Linked DNA regions of Homo sapiens: all the other regions are linked to region 1. The links are contacts of gene promoters, found by promoter capture Hi-C in blood cells and fetal thymus (Javierre and others, 2016). All regions are on one chromosome and are shown on one strand. Each heading gives the region's core, a stretch centred on a gene start or on the middle of the fragment in contact. The rest is flanking DNA. Distances are from core to core; before and after follow the strand shown.

Region 1 (2,786 bases), core at 178-2,677:
TTCCACCAGGGGGCCTAACAATCATGTAGCCTGGTGTTTCAGGAAAAGATCATAAAGCATCTCTAAGATTTCTTTCAGTGCTCTGATCCCTAGAAGGACTACAACTTGCCTAGAAAGAAAAACTGTGCTTTGTCTCGGCAACCACAAGGAGGAGTTGAGAAAAAGAACCGAGCAGAGAAACCAGATAATGCTGTTTCCCTTGCTTTTCCCACAGTAACCTCAAGGTGGAAGAACACTGGATCTGGAGCCTGCTGTACTGAATGAATGATTTTTCTCCATACTATGAGTTACCTAGACACAAACGTAAACAGGAAACATCACAATCCTTCCGAATGCCACAAAAAGGCCAAGGGAATCCATATACAATGGCCACTAAGGACAGGAAAGGTGTTTCTTTAACTCCAGCACTAAGAATTCTCCACAAATTCAGGGGAGGAGCTCCAGTTAGCACAGAAAGACACATAACTCACTGATGAAGACCGAGTGTTTCAGGTCGTCAGTACTCTTTGGCCAGAGAAGTATTAAGTCAATTCTATTTAATACTTAGGGCACCTAAAATTCGTAAGCGGTATAAGCAAGACAGTCCCACGTCTAAATTCACAGATTTGGCGGATCGCATGGAATTCATTAACATCAGACTCATTAAACACCCAAATCCATTTCCCACGGGCTTGTGACTCACCGCCACCTGTTGATGCCCACATTGGAGGAGCCGGCGAACCAGGGGTCCAGGATGTAGACGCAGCGGATGGTGTCGGCGCCCTGAATGCACTCCTTCAGGGCGGGGTTGTCGTGGAGCCGGAGCCCCTTTCGGAACCAGTGCACGGCGTTCACCCCCATGCCGGGGGGCGCGGCGGGTCCTCCACGGAGAAATTCAAGGAAGGAGGCTCCGGCTCATAGCCGACACCTTCGCTTCCAAGAGAATTGCCTCACCCGGGGCGTGAGGAAAGGGCGGCAGAGGGGGAACAGGAAAAAATGACTCCGAGGAGGGGACCGGAGAAGGCGGGGGCGCCGGAGGCGCAGTGGAAAGATGAATGGAGGTTGCCTAGTCGGCGGAGTCCGGGTGTGACGCCCTTTAGGAGCCCGCGCCCGCCGCAACCGCCTGGAGGCGACGCATAACTTCGAGGGCCTCGGACCTCCGGAGCCTGAGCAAGTTCCAGGAGCTCGAGCCGCCACGACGGCCCGAGCCGGCACGGACGGCCCCAGGAGATTCGTCACGGAAACCTCGCCCCACCAAGGCGGCCCCTAAAGACAAAACGGCCCGCCCGAGGTGAGTCACCGAGGAGAACCGGAGGGGAATGAGCCCCTGTCGGCGACGCTGTCTCTCGGCCCGGGAGAAAGGACCGGGAACGGAGGCTAGAGGCGGTGGTCGAGGCCGCTGGACGGTTGCCGGCCGGTGACCGGTCCCGAGGCTGCCCGGGTGACTCTGCCGCCGCCGCCGCGTCAGCGGCCTCGGCCCCGCCCCCGGCTCCTCATTGGAGGGCGCGCTCCCCTCGTGACCACCGGCACCTCACGTTTCTGAAGTGTGTTTACTACACTGGCTCGGAGGGGTAATCTGCTCGCGCTTCGGTCGCTTTTGGAGGAGCGGCAGCCGCTTGATCCCAAACTTGTTGACCCTCGTCCACACGCTGAACTCACTGCCTCTGCCCCTTTCCTGTGCCGACTGGTGGCCGTCCCTTGGAAGCAAATCGCGTTGACCACAGGCCCCTTGTGAGGGAAGGCTTAGCCCCGCCCCCAAGGGCCATGAGCGGCCACCATTGGCCGAGGCTCGCTGAGACCCGGATGAGCACGGGGATGCGGGGAGCTTGCGGGCGCGCGCGCTGCTCCGTTAGGCGCGCGTGCGCTCTCGCTGCGTTCCAGAGGGTAAGGGGGCGGGGCCGGCGGGCAGGAGCGCGCTCGGCGATTCCTCCCGTGGGATTTGGGGAGGGCCTGGAAATTGTCCGGTTTCCTTCAGGAGCCAGTGGTGGAGTCGGGCGGAGAGTGAGGGGAGGATGGAGTGGAAGGAGGAGAGTGGGAGGCTCCACGTACATTTCAAGTCCAAACCATGTGCTTCAATCCTGCTTTGGCCAGAGAACCCTACTTTGGAGATTGTGGAGCTGTGCCCCTCCACTCTCCTGGCCCTTGGGTGCCTCCTCCCCCTTGTACATACTCTGGGGAAAAGGGTAATTGGCAGGACGGATGCCAGGCATTCCTGGACTTCCTGGAATTTTTTTAATACTAGCGATATATATCATCAACCTTTCACCCCTCGTCTCTTACATTTAATGTAGTTTACCGGTCTCTTTGAAACTGGACGTTTGTCTACTTTTCCAGCGACAGTGAACTGCAGGCCATGGCATCCCTTAGATATATGATGCCCTTAAATTCATTCAATGATTACTTTTTGAATGAACTAGGCACTGTTCAAAGCACTAGAGATACAGGAGATACTTAATAAAACAGACTAAAACCCCACCCCTCCTGGGGTTTACAATTTGTCTCTTAACCTTTGCTGTTTTTTCCTCTATAAAATACTCTTCTTTGGAATCCAGTACTCAATATTACCACCTTTGAGCTACCTAGGATATTTCTACGCATCCCTTTAGACTCAGATGAAATAATAACTAATTTCTGAAAGTATTCCTGATCCCTAGGGCAAATTTAGGACCTCCCTGGGTTCTCCAAGTATGTTTCTGTTACATCACTTTTCACACTACCGTGAAAATTAGTTGAAAAGTGCCCATTCCTAGCAATACCAACTCAGTAATAGTACTTATTATCATAATAATGTGCCTCTGATTCCCTCT
Region 2 (2,786 bases), core at 156-2,655, 800 kb before region 1:
GAGACCAGCCTGGCCAATATAGTGAAACCCCATCTGTACTAAAAATACAAAAAATTAGCCAGGTGTGGTTGTGGGCACCTGTAATCGCAGCTACTCTGGAGGCTGAGGCAGGAGAATTGCTTGAACCCGGGAAGTGGAGGTTGCAGTGAGCCGAGATCGTGCCACTGCACTCTAGCCTGGGCACAACAGAGCAAGACTCCGTCTCAAATTAAAAAAATAAATAAATAAAAAATAAAGAAACAAAGATGGATATAAAGAGTTATTGTCTGAAAAAGGTTTTGGGGCAAACACGAGCAAGCATTGCTCACTGCAGGCTCCAATGCACAGGCAGAAGTATCTCCTATTCTCGTCACCCATGACCAAGAGGTGTATTTGGGTTAGGGCATAGCTGCATGTGCCTCAGATCTGTACTCCAGAAGAGGAACTCCCATACCTGTATTTTCCCCTTTTATGGAGCAAGTATGAGAACGACTTTGCCCAAAAGAGACATCGTGGTCTCAGCCATCAGGTAGTCTGAGAATAAGAGGCAGCTATTGAGGGGAGTGTTGGTAAACACTACCTGCCCAGCATCTGGAGACTTTAGGTGCTCAGGAGAAGTTTAATTTTTGCACAACCCCTCCTGCTAAAAGGAAAAAAAAAAAACCCTGAAACCCTTGTTAGTCCAAAGTCAGGCAATTAATTTGAGCCTCTGAGTTCAGCCTTCAGACAGTTAAATTGCTTGTATTCATGAGTAGAAGACATTCCTTGTGCCCAAGGAACAGTCTGAAGTGAGTGACTTTCATGTCCTCCAATAATTACAGGATATGTGTGATACATGCTGTACATTTAAAAGATTTCCTGAAGTCTGCTTTTTTGCATCTAGTCATGCATAGCAGATTTCATGGGTGAAAACAATGCTTGGGGCCCTACTTTTCTTCATGGAGATGGCAAAAATGCTTAAAGAGCTAGGTGAACCATGTAAATGAATGAAGTAGGCTACATATAAGAGGGGTGGGCTTGTGGCATTCAAATTCAAAGTCCACCTGTGGGCTGAAAGCCACTCATTGCAATGCCCTCTACATCAAGCTTATGGTTCAGCTTTGGACTCCTGAAGAAATGGCGCAGAACCATCTATGTAGATTTAGAAAGTGAATTGAGTTCCTCACCTCATTTGGCAAGAATGGTGAATTTCCCACAGTTCGCAGGTACCTGTGGTTCCAAAGTGAGCTGCCGTTTTTGAAAATTATAAAAGCAACACTGAAGCAGTTTAAACCAATCCAGATTTTTAGCTAAGTAGTTCCAATTTTCTTCCTTATCAGTTAAGCTCATATCAGCCTTATTTTTCAACAATGAATTTGACCTAAATACTGATTTAGGGGCCTGAATCTGTTTTGTTGAGATCACTTGAGAACTTCTTGTACATGTATCTGCTTGGCTACTCCTTTCTCTAGGAAGCCTACCTGGGGGTCGTCAGTTCTGGATTACATGCTCCTTCTATGTGGCCCCTTGGATTGACTTCTATTTGTCAAGGTATAATTTTCAACAAATTGAAAACATGACTTATATGAAACAGAACAAACACGGGCTTAAAAAAATATTTATTTCATCAATTAAAGAGTTAGCCAGTAAAATGGTAAAGTTGGTTTAAGGAATATTTGAGAAATAGGGGTTTATATATCCCATCAAGAAATGCATTTTTAAAAATCTTACAATAAGATTACTAGGTTAGACACAAAATTGGTTAATGTCTTATAAGGTAATAAATAGTAAGCTTTTATCTTTTCTATAGAACAGAAAAGATTTTACTTGTATTAGAAATGGACAAGAATAATTTGCATTGTTATCAATTTTTTGGTGTTTTGTTTTGGGTTTTGGTTTTCGGTTTTTTGACATAGGGTCTCTGTCACCCAGGCTAAACTGAGGTGCCATGATGATAGCTCACTGTAGCCTCGAACTCCTGGGCTCAAGGGACTCTCCCACTTTAGCTTCCTGATTAGCTGGGACTACAGCCACATGCCACCCTGCCCAGCTAAGTTTTGTATTTTTTTTGTAGATACAGGATCTCTCTATGTCGCCCAGGCTGGTCGCCAACTCCTAGCCTCAAGCAACCTGTCCATCTTGGCCTCCCAAAGTGTTGGGATGACAGGCGTGAGCCACTACACTGGGCCCTTGTTATCAGTTTTTGATAAAGTAACATCTGCCTTTACAAAGTTCTGGAATATCTGAACCAATAACGAGTAGTAAGTCCAACAAAGGTACACAGTCCTAGATAATGCATGAATCCTTGTACGAGTCTGCTACTACACTGCACTACACAGCACCCTACTAAAAGGACATCCAGTAATCCCTTTTGCCTATTTCCAAGTCTTTGGATAACGTTTGGATAATTATCCAAGTTTTTGGATCATTGTTCTTAACACAATATAAAGTTATATTATTTTCCTGAATGGATCTGACTTACTGGCCTAATGAGTGGAGAATAGTAATCCTCACATTGATATATAAATACTGGGTGATGTGTTAGGCTCATTTGTGAGGTAAATAAATGGCTCCTGTACCACCAACTTATTAGATTCAAATTTGCTCCTTGGCAGAATTTTAAATTATCGCATGTCACAGACCTTTAAGTTGCCCAGGACCTGTCGAAACTGTAAATATTAAATCATTAAAATAACAAGAGTATAATAATAGTAGTTACAGTTTACTGATCCATACAATGTCGCTGGCACTCTGCTCAACTCTTCATATACATTATTTCTTTTAATTCTCCCACAGGTTATGGAGTATTTGTTCTAGTCAAAGTTCTT
Region 3 (2,786 bases), core at 145-2,644, 780 kb before region 1:
AAAAAAAAAAAAAAAAAATTCCTGTTTGTGACCAGCCCGGCCAACGTGGTGAAACCTCACCTCTACTAAAAACACAAAAATTAGCCGGCCATGGTGGTGGGGCGCGTGTAATCCCAGCTACTTGGGAGGCTGAGGCAGGAGAATTGCGTGAACCCAGGAGGTGGAGGTTTCAGTGAGCCGAGATCGCACCACTGCACTACAGCCTGCGCAACAGAGTACTCCGTCTCAAAAAACAAAAACAAAAACAAACAAACAAAAAAATTCCCCTAGGATACATATTACCCATAATCTTTAGAACTCAGTTTATATGTCACTTCCTGAGGGAAGCTTTTTCTGACATTGGTGAACCCCCTAGACTACAATTAATCCCTTTGCTACAGACACCTGTAGCCCTTGCTGCCTCCTTTTTGTTAAGAGGTCTTATAATTTTATGTTTGATGTCCATCTTCCCCACTTGATTGAAATGCACTATTTATGGAGGAGCTATGTCTGTATTGTTTGTTGCTGTATCCCTATTGTCTAGCATAGTGCCTGACATACAGTACAGGCTCAAGACATATTTGCACATTGATTTATGGAAAACTGATACTCAGGTTCTGAAGAATAAATAAATGCACCTGAACTGTCAAAGTGCTAAAAGCAGGCAATCCAGAAATGTCTGGAGGTAGGAATCACAGCTGCAAGAGGCACTTCCTGGTTAACCTCGCCCTCCGACCTCTAGTTGGAGCCACCCCTTTGGATCCTACTTCAGCCTTTCTGGAGTCAGTGGCTCACAGGTTTCCTGAGACAAAGAGAAGAGGCTTGAGACTATTATTACAGATCAGTCGTCTTTAGAAGCAAAGTTGGTTCGTGGATTGAATTTTCAACCTTACAGTACCAATTATAAATCCTGAGGCATTCTATCAGTTAAGACAACTTAGAATATTTGATCCCATTCAGAACTTTTTCATTTGTTTTAAAGCAGGAAAAGTAAAGGAAGTCAATGTAATAACTCTTCTTCTTTAAAATGTGGATCATAGTCCTCTTGGGGATGTTGTTCATTTAATATTAACATTTTTTAAGCTTGCCATGTATCGTGGGTGTATCTGTTTGGTTTCCTTTGGTAACTTGCATTTTGCCATGACCCTTGATACCAGCTCTACTGCTACAGCCCTAGGCTAGGCCACCGTCATCTGTGGCCTGGACCCTTTCAGTCCTAACTGGTTGCCGTGTCTCCTTTCTTAGCCCCCAACAGTTCATCTTCCATATCCAGTAGCCTTAATGATGTTTTTAAAGAATGAGCTATATTAGATGATTTCTTTGCCAAAAACTCTTCAATGGTTTTCACTTACTCAGAGACCAAAAATCTAAGCATTTTCCTATGGCCTGGATGGCCCCACTCCCCTGACCCCATCTCAGTGCTGTCCCTCCTGCTTGCTGTGCTTCAGCCACACTGGCTTCCTTCCTTACCTCAGGGTTCACCAATCTGGATCTTGTCTCATAAACTTTGTTCCTCTGACTTCTTCTTTTTGAATGTTCTTTTCCCAGACCTTCACATGGCTCTTTGCTCTCCCCTTCTGAGTCTGAACACAAAGGTCACTGACTTAAAGAGGCTTTTTCCCACCATCCAGTGAAATCAGCACCCTCTCTGTAACTGTGTACCACATTGTCTTATTCTTTCTCATAGGTCTGAAATTGTCGTATTCATTTTTAATGTATTTTTTGCCTTTTTGTCCCTGCTAACATATAAGCTTTTTGAGGTCAGAGACTTTCTTTTCACTGTAGTATTCCCAGTTCCTAAAACAGGGCCCTACACATATTGGATGTTTAATAAACATTTATTGACTAATACAAATGAATTTTTTGAGATGGAGTCTTGTTTTAAAGTTAAAATTTGTATTTTTTATGAGGTAAAGCAAAAGACAGGGCATATCTGTACTTTAAATTCAAAAGTGGCGAGTACAGGCCATAGTGAAGGCATTTTAGGCTCAGACAGACTGTGGGGTTTGAATCCTGGCTTTGCTGAGACCATACCTGAACCTCACACTTCCCAAGAATAAGAAGGGGGCTACACTACTCACTTCAAATGCATACTCACTAGCATAAAAGTGCCTTGCACATAAATACTTTGATACTATGGAAAATATTAATCTCTCTTCCCTTCAGTTTCTGCCATGGCTAGAAAATGTGAGCAAGGGAAACAAAGTACAGAGTTAGGACACATTGCCTTTGTTTAAAGATAAAGTCTTAGCCGGGCGCAGTGGCTCACACCTGTAATCCCAGCACTTTGGGAGGCTGAGGTGAGCAGATCACCTGAGGTCAGGAGTTTAAGACCAGCCTGCCCGACGTGGTGAAACCCTGTCTCTACTAAAAGTACAAAAATTAGCTGGGTGTGGCAGTGCATGCCTGTAATCCCAGCTACTTGGGAGGCTGAGGCATGAGAATCACTTGAACCTGGGAGGCGGAGGCCGCAGTAAGCTGAGACTGCGCCACTGCACTGCAGCCTGGGCGACAGAGTGAGACTCTGTCTCAGAAAAAAAGAGATATACTTATCAAATTATGAATTCATTCACCATGCATGCATTTGTTAAGCAGTCACTATATATCAGGCACTGTACTAGGCACAATGGTAAGTACCTACCTGGAGGACTTATGGCCTCTGCTTAGGAAAGGTATATAGCTCTGTGGGGAAAGAGCCTCGTCAGTAATTACAGTGGAGGGACATGTGGTTTTCTAAAAACTATTGCTAAATGGTAGAGAAGTTAGGTAGGAATGTGTATTTTAACGTGCACCTATTTTAAGGGATT
Region 4 (2,786 bases), core at 84-2,583, 690 kb before region 1:
ACTATAAAATTTACCTGTGGTTTTCTCTGGGTGAAGGACTGATGGCTGCTATATGTCTACACACACACACACACACACACACACACACACACACACACAAATATATTTTACTTGTGTCTGTATTTTCTAAATTTCCTACAATGACAATGTATCATTTTTTTTAGTAAGAGAAAAAAGGGAACCAGTGTGTTAGGCAGTATGCTATGCTTTTTGTCATTGATTTATGATAAACGTTGATTTTCAACTAGACCCAGTACAGCTTTCTCTATAACCAGGGTCTTTATCTCTTTCGCTCATACTGTACATGTGGTTAGGTGCTTGCTAAACTACCTCCAGTGATGTCATTCAAACATTATTGTAATCTGTTTTTTATAGGCATTAAAATATATAGGGAACAAAGTAAGAAGGCAAAGGATGTGGGGAGGTGGACCAAAGAAAACCAAAATAGAAGAAGCAAGAGAGCTCCTGGCTTCCACCATTCTGACCCATGTCCCAGTGAGTAACACTTCGTTATTGTGAATAAGGACTGTGGGGTCTGTGAATTCCTGTTAGAGAACTGTGATAAGAGTTTACCTTATTTAAAGTCCAATTCCTCAAGAGAAAATTCTAAAGAGGACTGTACTGCCCCATCAGAAATAACCTTCCATTATCAGCAGTTTGTTTATACTCGGAGAATGTTAGCTGTATCGCCATCATCATGTTTATTCTCTTGTGGTTATTCTTTCAGTCTTAAATTATTGTTATTTTATATTCATACATACATTAGTACTGCTACTAGATTTCATGGTTTTGAAGGACAGAGATGGTGTCTTACATGTTTTATAAATAAATTAAAATAAGCTTACAGTGCCTTGCCCGTACATATTTTTTATTGTATGGTAAAATTGCTTATGTAAAATATGCTTATGCTTATTGTATAGTAAAATATGCTTAATGGTAAAATATGCGTAACATAAAGTTTACTGTTTTAAGTGTACAATTTTCTGGACTTAAGTACATTCACATTATTGTACAACCATCACCACAGCAGATAGTTTTAAAAATGTTTACTGGATGAGTTCATCTTCTAGACCTTGAATTTAAAGTTCACATTATCCAGCCTCCTTCACTTATTGTGAAGATTCTCTGATCCAAACATGCTAGATGATTTGCGTTGTCACCCAGCTGGTTAGTGGTAAGAGTAAGGGTTAGAACCTATCTTCTGGCCTTGAACTAGTATGTAATATTTATTTTTTATTAATTTATTATTAAACAGAGATCAACCATATTGGCATGTGGGGTGTTGGCAAGAGGCAGCCCTCAATTTTCTTCCCATTTAATGTATATGCTACTCTTACTAAGTTATGGAATTATTATTTGTTAGACTATCTTGTTAACTAAATAGTCTGGTTTGTAGTGAGTTATCATGTGTTCCATCCGTGAATAATCTTTTTCAAGGGTTGCAAACACTACCTTCAGGGGCTGACTGTAAAATAATGGAAGGTCACGGGATCTGTGGAAGTCGAGAGTAACCACCTGAATGCATCCAGATCCGATTTTCCTGTATTAAAACACCCTTCAATCCAAATAATACAGGTCTCTCATTCTGCCCCTTGGCTACCATTTGTGCATGTCCTTGATTTAATCCAAATAATTAGAAAATTCTGAATGTTAAAGCTGGGTCTCAACTGAATTTTAAGCTCTTTTGGATGATTGGAAGAGTCTGAAACTTAAAATAGCAAAAATGGATAGTAGAAACAACAAAGGCTTTTGAGCCTGAGACGTAATTGTTCAAATCCTGGTTTCTTACATCCTAACTGATGAACTTTGGGCAAATCTGAACTTTTCTAAGCTTCAGTTTTCTCATCTTTTTAATAAAAGTAATTCCACTTTCTTGCAGGGTTCTTGTGATGATTCGGAGATATAATATACGTAAAGCTCTGTATTTTCCACAGCTCCCCATGTAGTTCTCAGGAGCTACACTTACCTTCACACTATAACTGAGAAGAATGTTGGGTTAATTAAAGAGCTTTAGTTGATAGAGTCCTGCCGATATTAACATTTGTTTAGTTAGACTGATAAAGATAGGCCAGGCACAGTGGCTCACACCTGTAATTCCAGCACTTTGGGAGGCTGAGGCGGGCAGATCACCTGAGGTCAGGAGTTTGAGACCAGCCTGACCAATATGGAGAAACCCCATCTCTACTAAAAACACAAAATTAGCCAGGTGTGGTGGTGCATGCCTGTAATCCCAGCTACTTGGGAGGCTGAGGCAGGAGAATCGCTTGAAACTGGGAGGCGGAGGTAGCAGTGAGCCAAGATCACACCATTGCACTCCAGCCTGGGCAACAAGAGCAAAACTCCGACTCAAAAAAAAAAAATCATTTGTGCTTTTCTGTGGTTGCATGGAACCTAAATTACCATTTTAAAAGTTTGGTTATACATAATCCAGTGAGGAATAAAGTCAGAATAGATGGTTCAGGGAAAAGAACTTTGTTTTCCAGAATTGTTTTGGACAGTATTTACCTAAATGTGATATAAAGGATGATTTTCAGTGATACAGGGTCATTTTTTATGTAAGTAATTACATACTTATTAGAAGGAATACAACTAGCACATCAAATCCATTTTTGTGATATATGTGATTTTATGGTATTATTGCATAGGATGAAGCTTAGCTTAAAATTGGTTGTTTAAAGATGATTAGACGTATTACATAAATAAGTACTACAGAGATATGCTGATATTCGTGATGGTGGAACTTGAATGACTAGCATTTGGAAAGTATTGTTTAGGTGTGTCTGTGT
Region 5 (2,786 bases), core at 102-2,601, 590 kb after region 1:
GTTGAAGTTTCACTTTAACGCTGAGGTGTTACACAGAAGCTAGAGGGGGCAGAAAACTACCCAAGTCTGTGGAAAGGAGTTTTTCTGACAGGTGGTGATAGTGGTGGCATCAAGGAGGAGGGGACTGAGGGAATGCAGTTGCTGGTAAAGGGTAGATGGTCAGAATCCTCAGCTGTCACCCAGCAACTTGACGGTGAATAGGATGAAGCAGTCACCAATCAGGCTGTCACAACCACATTTGCTTGCATGTCTTATTTAATTTTCCCTTGACCATAAACCTCTGATCCTATATTAGAATACAGAGCCCTCAGAGGGAAGGGCTGTGTCATGTTCATTTTTGTAGCTCCCTGTCTCCCAAACTGTCCTGCATAAAGATGGCAAAGAAAACAATTGTTGCATGTCATGGGTGACAGTTCTTGCCTCCTCACAGCAGCACCCCAAGTTTCCTCCAGAGAATTCTTGCTGCCAACTCTGTGTTCCCTGTACAGCTAATTCTCTCTCTGGCTCCAGGGCTGGGCATGAGGCTCAGGCTTTGCTGAGCAGAGCATCACCTTCTCCTGACCACAGTGACTGGTGATCATTCCAGAACTGAAGAGGCAAATGAGAGAGAAGTAGAGAGAAATGCAAGTGCTTTTTCTGCCGAGGTTGCAAGTAGTAAAGATGCATCAAGCCTGAAGCTCCTGATGGCTTAATGTTAAGTGAACAGATTGTAAGACAGAAACTAAATATAGAAGAGAGGTCCAATCCTGATGACAGTGGTTTCAGCCCCTAGATCCAGCTATGTCTGAAGCTATTTATGTCAGTAGGTTCTTGAGCTACTAAGCATATACATTCTCTTTCTTGCCCAAGGCAAATGGAGTCGGTTAGCTGTCAATTGCATTCAATAGAGTCCTGACAGACCAACGAATGAATGAATGAATTGATGAACAACTCTACCAGAAAACTTGTGTCACATGACAGACAGGATCCTATCTCAGGAGTCGGGTTAGTATATTGCCATTGCTAACTCTATGACGCTGGGCAAGTTTCCTGATTTTTTTTTTTTTTTTTTTGAGACAGAGTCTTGCTCTGTCACCCAGGCTGGAGTGCAGTGGCACAATCGATCTCTGCTCACTGCAACCTCCGCCTTCCAGGTTCAAGTGATTCTCCTGCCTCAGCTTCCCAAGTAGCTGGGACTACAAGTGCATACCACCACACACAGTTAATTTTTGTATTTTTAGTAGAGACAAGGTTTCACTGGCCAGCCTGGTCTCAAACTCTTGACCTCAGGTGATCTACCCACCTCGGCCTCCCAAAGTGCCAGGATTACAGGCTTGAGCCACCACGCCTAGCCTTCCTAATGTATTTGAACTTCAGTTTAGAACTCTAATATTATTCATTTATTCAACGAATATTTAGTGACATTTGCTGTGCCAGGCACTCTGCCAGGTGTTGGCAATACTGTGGTAACAAGACTCTCACGGCTCTCGTCCTTGTGAAAATGCCAATTCAGTTCTAGAAAAATCAAGTTTCATTTTTGTACACCTGATTTTGTCACTGTCAAATCTATTCATGGTATAAGTCTCTAGCACTTGGTAAGTGGTAGCTATCATTCCTTCCACTCCTTATCAGCTAATATTGTAGGGTCAGCTAGAGGAGGAGCAAGAAACAGAGCCTCGTGCAATGGGGGAGGAGGGTACCATAGGCTTCATTTCCTTCCCAGCACTCAAGCCCATTTAGAAAAAAATGTTTATGAGCCTCAGTACAGATGACACTGAGCTATAGGGTATAACAAGAGCCTGGCATGGCCCAGGATTCGATCCTCTGGGACCCTTAACTAAGAATAGCCAACGTGCCACCAACGACATTTATTCTGGCCTCTGGCAAAGAGACTTTTCTGACTTAAATATGTTCATCAGTTCCTAAGAATCAGGCTTAGAAACAGAGCTACTTAAGCTCAATCTCTTTCAATTCTCATTATAAGGAATTAATCATACCTGCTGCCATGGGATTTTCATTTTTAAAGGGAATTCACAGCTTGGGCTGAAGTGGCAGAATGTCGGAAATAAGTCCTGTAAAAGAGGCTGAGTTTAGCAAGCCCAAAATAACTGGAGTCCTAGCTTACCTTCTGTTATTTAACTTATTCACTCATTTAACAACTATGATTTATCAAGAGCCCACCCTGCACCAGGCACCATGCTGGTTGTGACAGCAAACCTGACAGGGACTGGGCCATCATGGAGCAGAAGCTGGCTCATGAGAAGGCAACCCACGGGGGCAAAAGACCTAGAGTCAAATACTCAAACCTAAGCCCATTCCCGTATACAAGGTGAGCCCACGTGAGCCTAGCCAGGGGTTAATACATCAGCCTCTGCTAAGAAATCAGTTCATGCGCTCTATTCTAAATACAGCACATTTCTCACCTGCTTTATTATTGCTGCATTAAAAGATGACCTCAAAACTCAGCAATTTAGTACTTACTACCACTAAACTATACTCTTAAAAATGGTTAAGTTCGAGGCTGCAATGAGTTATGATCATGCCACTGCACTCCAACTTGGATGACAGAAATGTAACCAGGCACCCCCATTTTTTAAGAGAATGAGTTATTTTTTAAATTTCATTATTCTTTTCTCTTTTCTCCTTTTCCCCTGTTCCCCACTTCCTACTTAGCTCTTTAGAAATGCCATTATAACGTTTTACCTTCCCTTCACCAGATACTCTCTACAGGGCAAGCTTATCTAACTATGTGCTTAAAAGCTCCAGAGTGGAAATTTCTCCCACCAGGAGCCTGCCTCAAGAGACAA
Region 6 (2,786 bases), core at 90-2,589, 530 kb after region 1:
AAGCTTCGGTGAGTCCGTGAGGAGTAAAACCTGCTGGAAGCATTTCAAAACCAAACTCCCCACCTGACTTAAAAATAAGTAGCTGAATAAAGAGACTTTCACCTGAAATCACCTAAGAAACTGTCTTAGTGAGAAACATTCCCAGGGTCTGGGTTCTATCGTTTTGAGGTTTTGTTTGTTTGTTGTTTTTAACTTTTCTTCAGCCTATACTGGGAATTCCAGAATTTATTGAGACATTCTGTGTATTAAGTAAAACTAACCTGTGCGTTCTTAAAGTAAACTTTACTTTGAGGTATGACATACGTACAGAAAAGTGCCCAGCTCATAACTACGATGCCAAATGGATTTTCATAAGATAGACAAACTGTGCAATCCTCATCCAGACTGAGAAATGGAACACGACTAGCACCCAAGTGGTCCCCTTACACCCTACTCCACTGCTATCCTCCAAAGGGCCGCCACTCTCCCGACATCTAACACCACACTTTGTTTTGCCTGGAGCCACAATGTTTGACTTGGACAGCTCATTAGATAGGAAATAGTTCTCAGAACCTGAGCCCATGATTATAAGAATCTACAGGCTGAAGCATACAAAATACCCTCCATTCACAGAAGTGGTGGGTGCTCCCATCGTTTAATAGTCAGTCATTTGAAAATCAGGCTGACTGGGTATGGTGGCTCATGCCTGTAATCCCAGCACTTTGGGAGGCCGAGGTGGGAGGATTGCTTGAGCCCAGGAGTTCGAGATTAGCCTGGGCAACATGATGAAACTCCACCTCTACAAGAAATACAAAAAAATAGCTGGGCGTGGTCGTGTCTCAAGAGCAGGGAGCCAGTGAAGTGTGTTTTGCTTTTACAGGGGGTTCAATGGCATCCCCTACTGGTGAAATGTGGCTTTACACATCACATGCACTGACCACTGGCCGGGGGTGGGAGCGGGTAGGTGGAGGTTAAAAAAGGAGATAATTTCCCCGAGCCTGCAGGGTGAAGTCACCCATTCCCCAAGCATGGGGGATATTCTTGTGGTCAAAAGAAAAACTGGAGGGAGATGATGACAGAGAAATTCCAAGTTGAGAAGACAGTCTCCTGTCGGACAATAGGGCAGCCATCATCACAGAGCTGGCCAGCATTGTTCCTTCTCCCTGCACTTTAGGATTCCTGTTCAAATGTTTGTCCAAACAAGTATCTTTTTTTTTTCTTTTTTAAAACAAGGTCTCGCTCTGTCGCCCAGACTGGAGTGCAGTAGCATGATCTTGGCTCACTGCAACCTCTGCCTCACAGGTTCAAGCCATTCTCGTGTCTCAGCCTCCCAAGTGGCTGGGATTGCAGGCATGCACCACCATGCCTGGCTAATATTTAGTAGAAACAAGGTTTCACCATGTTGGCCAGGGTGATCTCGAACTCCTGACCTCAAGCAATCCTCCCACCTCAGCCTCCCCAGGTGCTGGGATTACAGGTGTGAGCCACTGCTCCTGGCCAAATATCTTGTTTTATCAGAGTAGTGAATAGATTCTTGCAAATAAATCCACTTTATGTTCAACTTATAGAAACAGCTGTCCTGTAAAATGAGGCATATTCGTCCCACCATTATTGGTTTGTGCTCACTCAAACCATACTTGAAATCCGACCACACATCTGCTTCTATGTTCTTGTTTCTAAATTTGGACTTCAAATGAATTCAGTGTCTCTAGACTTCCCCAGGAGCAGAACAATATATTCATTTTTTTGAATACATCTGTTTAAAAAGACTTCCCAGCTTATTTGTCTTTTTTTTTTTTTTTTTAAGATGGAGTCTTGCTCTGTTGCCCAGGCTGGAGTGCAATGGTGCAATCTCGGCTCACTGCAACCTCTGCCTCCCAGGTTCAAGCAATTCTCCTGCCTCAGCCTCCTGAGTAGCTGGGACTATAGGCCCACGCCACCATGCCCTGCTAATTTTTGTATTTTTAGTAGAGGCAGGATTTCACCGTGTTGGCCAGGATGGCCTCAATCTCTTGACCTCGTGATCTGCCCACCTCAGCCTCTCAAAGTGCTGGGATTACAGGTGTGAGCCACCACGCCTGGCCTTTTTTTTTTTTTTTTTTTTTTTTTTGAGATGGAGTCTCACTCCGTCGCCCAGGCTGGAGTGTAGTGGTGTGATCTCAGCTTACTGTAACCTCTGCCTCTCAGGTTCAAGCGATTCTCATGTCTCAGCCTCCCTAGTAGCTGGGATTACAGGCACCCACCGCCATGCCTGGCTAATTTTTATATTTTTGGTAGAGACAGAGTTTTACCATTTTGACCAGGCTGGTCTCGAACTCCTGACCTCAGGTGATCTACTTGCCTCGACCTCCTAAAGTGCTGGGATTACAGGCATGAGCCACCACATCCGGCCTCTAGCTTATTTTTCTAACACATCATTCCCCTGGGCATAATCAAGAGATAATCAGGAGTGCCCACTTGGTTCCAGGCACTACAGTGGTGATGGGACAGACATGTTCTTTATCCTTCTGGAGCTTACTGACCAAAAGCAAGAAAATAAATAAACGAAACAGAGTCAGAGCATGATCAGTGTTTACAAAATGAAATGGGACCATGGTATGGTCTCTGGGGGTGGGGCTGATGAGGTCTAACTTAGACGAAACGGTCAGGAAGTTCTCCCTGAGAAAGTGGCATTTGAAAAACCACCTAAGTGAGGAAAAGCTTCCAGCCATGCAGAGATCTAGGGCAAAAGCATTCCATGTCAGGGAACTGCAGGTGATTAGGCTCCTAGTAGGAACGTGCTTTGTGTGCTCAAAGGAAAAAGTGTA

What was found. The method cuts DNA at HindIII sites, captures the fragments that hold promoters and counts their contacts. A CHiCAGO score of 5 or more calls a contact.
Region 2: a contact is called between a fragment that was not itself captured here and the fragment with the promoter of CRY1 in region 1, in 1 of 17 cell types (fetal thymus). The highest score is 5.9, in fetal thymus.
Region 3: a fragment that was not itself captured here is called in contact with the fragment with the promoter of CRY1 in region 1 in 1 of 17 cell types (naive CD4 T cells); the score reaches 6.3 in naive CD4 T cells.
Region 4: a fragment that was not itself captured here is called in contact with the fragment with the promoter of CRY1 in region 1 in 1 of 17 cell types (total B cells); the score reaches 5.1 in total B cells.
Region 5: a contact is called between a fragment that was not itself captured here and the fragment with the promoter of CRY1 in region 1, in 2 of 17 cell types (total CD4 T cells and total CD8 T cells). The highest score is 5.4, in total CD4 T cells.
Region 6: a fragment that was not itself captured here is called in contact with the fragment with the promoter of CRY1 in region 1 in 7 of 17 cell types (naive CD4 T cells, naive CD8 T cells, endothelial precursors and 4 more); the score reaches 9.5 in naive CD4 T cells.

The regions. Positions count from the first base shown.
Region 1 is chr12:107,092,122-107,094,907 of GRCh38, forward strand. CRY1 (cryptochrome circadian regulator 1) reads right to left here and starts at 1,428. Exons shown (of 13, transcript NM_004075.5): 1 at 683-1,428. The coding sequence starts at 840. RefSeq lists silencers at 1,260-1,489, 1,820-1,899 and an enhancer at 1,570-1,719. The HindIII fragment of the contact is 9,786 bases long and covers 1-2,786 here.
Region 2 is chr12:106,292,176-106,294,961 of GRCh38, forward strand. No RefSeq gene overlaps it. Among named protein-coding and RNA genes, the nearest start is that of TCP11L2, 9.2 kb to the right of the region's middle. The HindIII fragment of the contact is 685 bases long and covers 1,064-1,748 here.
Region 3 is chr12:106,315,006-106,317,791 of GRCh38, forward strand. The region is part of intron 3 of TCP11L2 (t-complex 11 like 2); the gene reads left to right. Among named protein-coding and RNA genes, the nearest start is that of TCP11L2, 14 kb to the left of the region's middle. The HindIII fragment of the contact is 668 bases long and covers 1,061-1,728 here.
Region 4 is chr12:106,405,482-106,408,267 of GRCh38, forward strand. It overlaps POLR3B (RNA polymerase III subunit B), which reads left to right. Exons shown (of 28, transcript NM_018082.6): 11 at 376-495. Among named protein-coding and RNA genes, the nearest start is that of POLR3B, 49 kb to the left of the region's middle. The HindIII fragment of the contact is 991 bases long and covers 839-1,829 here.
Region 5 is chr12:107,678,078-107,680,863 of GRCh38, forward strand. No RefSeq gene overlaps it. Among named protein-coding and RNA genes, the nearest start is that of PWP1, 6.3 kb to the right of the region's middle. The HindIII fragment of the contact is 2,723 bases long and covers 1-2,713 here.
Region 6 is chr12:107,621,296-107,624,081 of GRCh38, forward strand. The region is part of intron 11 of ABTB3 (ankyrin repeat and BTB domain containing 3); the gene reads left to right. Among named protein-coding and RNA genes, the nearest start is that of PWP1, 63 kb to the right of the region's middle. The HindIII fragment of the contact is 2,676 bases long and covers 2-2,677 here.